Linked DNA regions of Homo sapiens: region 2 is linked to region 1. Evidence: promoter capture Hi-C in human tissues and cell types (Jung and others, 2019). All regions are on one chromosome and are shown on one strand. The core of a region is centred on a gene start or on the middle of the fragment in contact, and the rest is flanking DNA. Distances in the headings are between cores, read along the strand shown.

Evidence for each region. Contacts are between HindIII fragments. The study calls those that stand out against the background at their distance.
Region 2: a fragment that was not itself captured here is called in contact with the fragment with the promoter of FGF2 in region 1 in 7 of the 25 tissues and cell types used here (adrenal gland, aorta, dorsolateral prefrontal cortex and 4 more).

The regions. Positions count from the first base shown.
Region 1 is chr4:122,825,407-122,828,316 of GRCh38, reverse strand. FGF2 (fibroblast growth factor 2) reads right to left here and starts at 1,486. Exons shown (of 3, transcript NM_001361665.2): 1 at 965-1,486. The coding sequence starts at 1,142. RefSeq lists enhancers at 1-3, 1-55, 44-183, 56-581, 864-943, silencers at 529-823, 1,164-1,643, cis regulatory regions at 2,143-2,181, 2,182-2,252 and promoters at 1,309-2,276, 1,445-2,627. The HindIII fragment of the contact is 11,104 bases long and covers 1-2,910 here.
Region 2 is chr4:122,916,950-122,920,158 of GRCh38, reverse strand. NUDT6 (nudix hydrolase 6) reads left to right here. Exons shown (of 5, transcript NM_007083.5): 2 at 2,455-2,658. Among named protein-coding and RNA genes, the nearest start is that of NUDT6, 4.0 kb to the left of the region's middle. The HindIII fragment of the contact is 3,529 bases long and covers 1-3,209 here.

The sequences.
Region 1 (2,910 bases), core at 237-2,736:
TTTCTTTCTCTTTCCTCTAGACCAGTGGCTCTCAAAGTGTGATGTGATCAGCATCCCCGGGGAACATGTTAGAAATGCAAATCTTCAGCCCCCACTCCAGACTTAGGGAATCCCCTAAAGTCCAAGCACTCCTTATTTAGGCCAGTGTTCTTTCTAGAACCACAAACATTGTTTCTTACAGAAAGCAAAACTGCAATTCTCATTTCATCCTCAAGCCTGCTGCAAGGTAGTAATATATTAGCCCCACGTGAGCGATGAGGAAACCGGCTCTGGGGTTAAGCGTCGGCTCAAGGTCTCAAAGCTAGTCACTGCAGGTGGAAGATTAAAGTGTTTGCACTTCTTTTCACTACTGAAACAAAGCTATGGCACTTTATTAACAACATCTGGATTTTTTGCTGGTTGGCTGGTTGGTTTTTGTTTTTGCTCTTTCAGCTTTCGTCAATTCGGAAAAATATAAAACAGAGTGGGTGAGAGTAGTGTGCCATATGCCTCGGGTCGTCCCGAGTCGGAATTTAAGGGCAGGACTCTAGAAAGGTGTTTTTCCAGTAAAGACCGTTTCGTTCTGCTGCGGTCCTTCCTGTCTTTGTCCCCGGGACAGCACGCAGCAGATAGAAGCGGCCAGAGCTGCATGGCGGGGCCGCGGGCATCCCCGACGCGACAGGTTGTCCGCGGGAAGACAGCCAGTCCGCGAGGCCCCGGCGCGCCGCGGCTCCGGGCCGGGGGTACTGGTTTACAGGGCAAATTGGCACACCCCAAAGCCCAGGGGACACCCGGGCCTACGCCGCAGCCCGGAAAGGAGGGGGTGAGTGGTGAACCCGAAACCGCCGAGGGCCGCGCGGCCAGAAACCACACGGAGCGCTAGGGTCGCAGTGAAGATCCGGGAGGAGGGTGCAGGCTGGAGGGGAGAGAGCGGGCGAGAACCCACGAAATGGAAATGAGGCGGAGAGAGCGGGTCGGCACTCACTGTGAGGGTCGCTCTTCTCCCGGACCCCGTCAACTCGGCCGTCGGGGTGGATGCGCAGGAAGAAGCCCCCGTTTTTGCAGTACAGCCGCTTGGGGTCCTTGAAGTGGCCGGGCGGGAAGGCGCCGCTGCCGCCATCCTCGGGCAAGGCGGGCAGCGTGGTGATGCTCCCGGCTGCCATGGTCCCTGCGGGGCCCGGCCGGGATCCCCGAGCCGCTGGAGCCGCGCGGGGAGCCGCCGTCCCCCGGCCCCGGCCCCGGCCTCCGACCCGCTCCGGGGCACGGCCCCGGCCCCGGCCCCCCAGCCTCCCGCCCGGCAGCGCGCGGCCGCGCCCGCGGTCCCCCAGCCTCGAGCCGCTCGGCCGCTCTTCTGTCCGCCGGCCCCTGGTGCGCGGCGAGCCGGCGGCCCGGGACCTGGGGTTCACGGATGGGTGTCTCCGCGGACGCCGCCTGGGGAGAGCCGCCTCCCAAGCTGCAGCGCCCGGGATCCCGTTGCAACCGCGGGCACCGCGTCCGCTAATCTGGCACCCGCCGGGCCGCGGCGTCACATCTTCTACATCTCCACCCCCCACACCCACCAGCCTCCCGCGCCCCCAGTTCTCCTCCCTCCTGCGCGCCGCCCCCTACTCGCTCGGGTTTTCTGGGGCCGGCCTCTGAGTTCGGCGGTTCGGCCACAACACGCAAGCGCGCGACATCAGTCCGGCGGGGAGCCCGGCCTCAGTCGGGGGCGGGGGAGAGGCGAGGGGCGGGGGGCGCGCGTCGGAGGCCGCGGCAGGGCTTTGGCATTCCCTGGGCTCCACCGCCCCTTATCCCCCAAAAGTCACCCCCGCCCAACCCCCGCACCACCCAAACCACGTTTAGGCTTTCTCCACACTGCGGGGCTTTTGCTGCGCAACCAGCCGTGACTCAACTTTTAAAAGTTTAAACTCAACTTTCTCCCCCATTTTTTCCCCGCTAGCGTTTCAAAACGGAGAAGCCGTTTCCACCCCAAAGTAGAGAAGTTGCAATCCAAGGAAGAGTCTGTGTCAGAGCAGGCTTTGAAAATCTCTAAATCACCAAAAGACGAGGGGTACAAGTGGGGCATAAACTTTAAAATTAAAGGACAGAGGCTGAAGTCGTCTACCAACAAAAGGAGAGAAAGAGGCCAGAGAAGGGGAGCAGATTGGGTTGCTAAAACGAAAAGGTTTCCTTTACTGACCTATCTTGAATTAGACGACGCAGAAAGATGAGGATGGGGATAAGGATAAATCCTTATCGCGATCGAAGCGCATTAATGTCTTAACTCGGACCTGGCATTTGCCCTAGCTAAATTGTTATGCATTTCTTGGAGAGAGAGTTATTTTCTGTAAATCCCAAATGTAAAATTGAAGTTAATTGCATTTTGGTAATTTTCAGTAGGATATAGCAGGTGCCACAGATGACTAGGAAAATATCTATTCAGAAAACTTGCATGTATTGAGTACCTACTGTGTGCAACACATAATGTTGAGTGTGTGGGAGATGCCAAATCTGATGCCAGCGTCTCACACACTGAGGGAGATAAGATGGGTAGCATGAGTAACACAAATAGCAGTAGAAAGTAGGCCATAGAAGAGTAAGACTAAGTGCTGTGACATTTCAGACATCGGATAACTCAGCGTGGGGAGGCAGGAGATTTGGGGAAGCTTCTAGAAGGAGTTGCAAGTATGGACGTGCCTCCTTGTAGAAACATTAGGTTTCAAAAGGCCATGCATAAGTGCATTTGTTCTTAAGTCTCCAAGAAGGCTTTAACTCCAGATGCATTTCTAGAATGTTACATACAGGAGAATGAGTAAATTCTTTGAAGCTTTAAAACCAGGCATACTGTTTTTATTTTTATTATTTATTTATTTTTTTTAGACAGAGTTTTGCTCTTGTTGCCCAGGCTGGAGATCAATGGCACGATCTCGGCTCACCGCAACCTCCACCTCC
Region 2 (3,209 bases), core at 313-2,812, 92 kb before region 1:
TTCTTAGTCTTTATGGACTAAGAAGTCCATATTCTTGGTGGAATAAGAAGTCAACTATTCATATTCTTTTAGAACATGAACTATTGATGTTTTGTTACCAACAACTGAAGTTAGAGGGATAAACAGGCAATATGTTGTTAGCTTCACACATAACATATCTGCATCAGTAATGAAATAGCACTGGTTCTGGTCCCTGCTATGCCACTCACCAGCTATGTGACTTTAGGCAAGCCAGTCATTTCATTAGTACAAATTGAGCCCCAGTGCATAATGTAGGGTTACCCTGGAGGATTGCAAATGCATGGAATATTAAATAGAATTGGAAAAAATAGCTAATGGAAGAGATATCATTAGGTCATATGTAATAAGTTCTAATAAATTGTACAGACATAGTAGTCTTTAAATTCATAATGGTGAGCTCATGAGCAGTGGTTAGGAAAGACTGGTCAAAGATGTGGAATATGAGCTGGACTTTAAAGGATAGATATTAGCAATGGGAATGGGAGGTGAGGGAAGAAAAAGCAATAAAGCTTATTAGGGAAAAGAAGAAAGCAATTTAAAAATGATTCTAAGGTTTCAAGCATTGGTGCCAGAAATAAATAAGCTTATAAATGAAGCTAGTTTGGGGTGTAAGATTCAGTTTTGGCCAGGCGCGGTGGGTCACGCCTATAATCCCAGCACTTTGGGAGGCCGAGGCGGGCAGATCACGAGGTCAAGAGATCAAGACCATCCTGGCCAATATGATGAAACCCCGTCTTTACTAAAAATACAAAACTTAGCTGGGCATGGTGGCACGCACCTGTAATTCCAGCTACTTGGGAGGCTGAGACAGGAGAATCGCTTGAACCTAGGAAGCAGAGGTTGCAGTGAGCCGAGATTGCACCATTGCACTCCATCCTGGTGACAGAGCAAGACTCCGTCTCAACAACAACAACAAAAGATTCAGTTTTGAACACACTTTGTGAAGTCTGAAGTGGTAACCTTCAGGACAGGAAATGTCTGGGAGCAACTGGAGAACAGAAAGTTTAGTGTTCAGTGAGGTCAGGGCTGGGCAGCCATCCTCATGTATGTATCAGCTGAAGCAGTGAGAGTGGATTCTCCAAGACACAGAGTGTAGATATAAAACAGCAAGCAAATAGCATTGCTTTTAGAAAGTAGCCTTTTAATTTGATTGGAAGGATTGCCTGGGAAGGAGCACATGTGAAATGTATGGAGTGATAGAAATGTTCTATAATGTTAAAGTGTGTTACGGGCATATGCATATGTCAAATCGCATGAAATGTACACTTAAGATTTGTACATTTCACTTTATGTACTTTACCTCAATTTTTAAAAGATGTCATCAGACAAAGAGAGCAAGGTGAGAAGGACCTGATCCCATAATTCCACTGCATGCTAACTCAAATCAGGAAGTCTTTATTAAAGGCCCCATGTGCCTGTCACTGTGCTAGGCACAGCAACTTTCAAAGAGGTAGAGAACATTGTCCTTAAAGAGAGGAGCTTCCTGCAGAGCTAGGGAAAAGAGAAGGGAAAGTTAATTAACTATTTGATATATAATCAACCCCCAAAGACAGACACACACACACGCTTTATAGCGTTATTATAAAGATTAAGTGAGATGATGGATGAAGAAAGTGATCTGAAAAGCTTTTCTAAAAACTCTAAATCTGAAGTATTTATTTCTTCACCCATAAACTTAAGGTAGTAATACCTTTCATGGTTGTGCACTTAATGAGATAATATATATAAAGTGCTTGGAACTTAGTAAGTTTCAAATAGATATTAGCATCTTTTTCCCCTGGCTCAATCTTAAGTAGTAAAGAGAATTTAAAGAAGGCAAAGATAGAAAACCTATAATTATGTTCACCATGATATTATCTATAATAAGGAAAAATTAGAATTTTATTCCTATATGCTAGTAAAATGTGAAGTTTGATTTCTTCATATTTTTTATTTTCAAAATTTCTACAACCAGCATACATTATTTAAAAACAAAGTTTAACTACCTTGAAATTTATACATTAAAAACATTATAACAGAACTCCTAAAGGAAGAAAAAAATAGAAGTCCATAATTGTCTTTAAGATTAAACCTAAGGATGTTAAAAGGAACAGCATTCAAATGGTATTTGATTCGGTTTAAATCCTTTTATTTGTCCACTCTAAAACTACAGAACATCTGTTACGTGCCAAGCATTGTCTTTGGTGGTATGGATATAAAGGTCAGCAGTGTAATGACTTTATTCTGAAGGAATTCAGTCTGATGGAAAAATCATATAAACAAGGTGGTTACTATAAAACATGGTACTTCCAGTGCCAGCGATGTGAACAAGACATTTGGGGACCTCTTTTGCTTAAAGATGGTTTCCTGGAGGAGGCGAAACCCTGAGGTGAGTTTTAATTTATTCCACTCGTCTCTTTGGAAATTATTTAGACTTTTTTCTTCTGCATTTAGCTGCAGTACAGCAATGGCGATCAGAAGGTAGAACAGCTGTATGGCTGCACATTCCCATCCTCCAAAGCCGATTTATTGCCCCTGCTGCTTCCCTGGGCTTCTGCTTTCACCACGCAGAATCGGATTCATCAACGTTGACTCTGTGGCTGAGAGAAGGGCCCAGCAGATTACCAGGATATGCTTCACATCAAGTAGGAGTTGCAGGTCAGTTTCAAACTCATGATGAGCAGAATTAACTTTTTAGACGTTCACCCAATTTCTTGCTTGTTACAGCTAAGCAAATAGTTTATTCATGTGGAATGAGTTATTTGATTAAATGATTACGGTGGTTCCACCCTATCTGCACAGGATGTGTTCCAAGACCCCCAGTGGGCACCTGTAACCGCAGATAGTACCAAACCCTATGTATATATACCATGTTTTTTCCTATCACACATATTTATGATAAAGTTTAACTTATAAGTTAGGCACAGTAAGAGATTAACAGTAACTAACAATAAATTAGAACAGTTATAAAAGTATAGTGTAATAAAAGTTATGTGAATGTGGTCTCTCTCAAAATATTGTTTTGTATTCACCCTTTTGTATTCACCTGCACGATGAGGTGAAGTGAGGTGAATGACAGGCATTATGACCTAAATGGAAAATTCCAGAAAAAAACTCTTAAGTTTTAAATTGCATGCTGTTCTGAGTAATGTGATGAAATCTCTCACCATCCTGCTCTGTCCCACCAGGCCGTGAATCTTCCCCATATC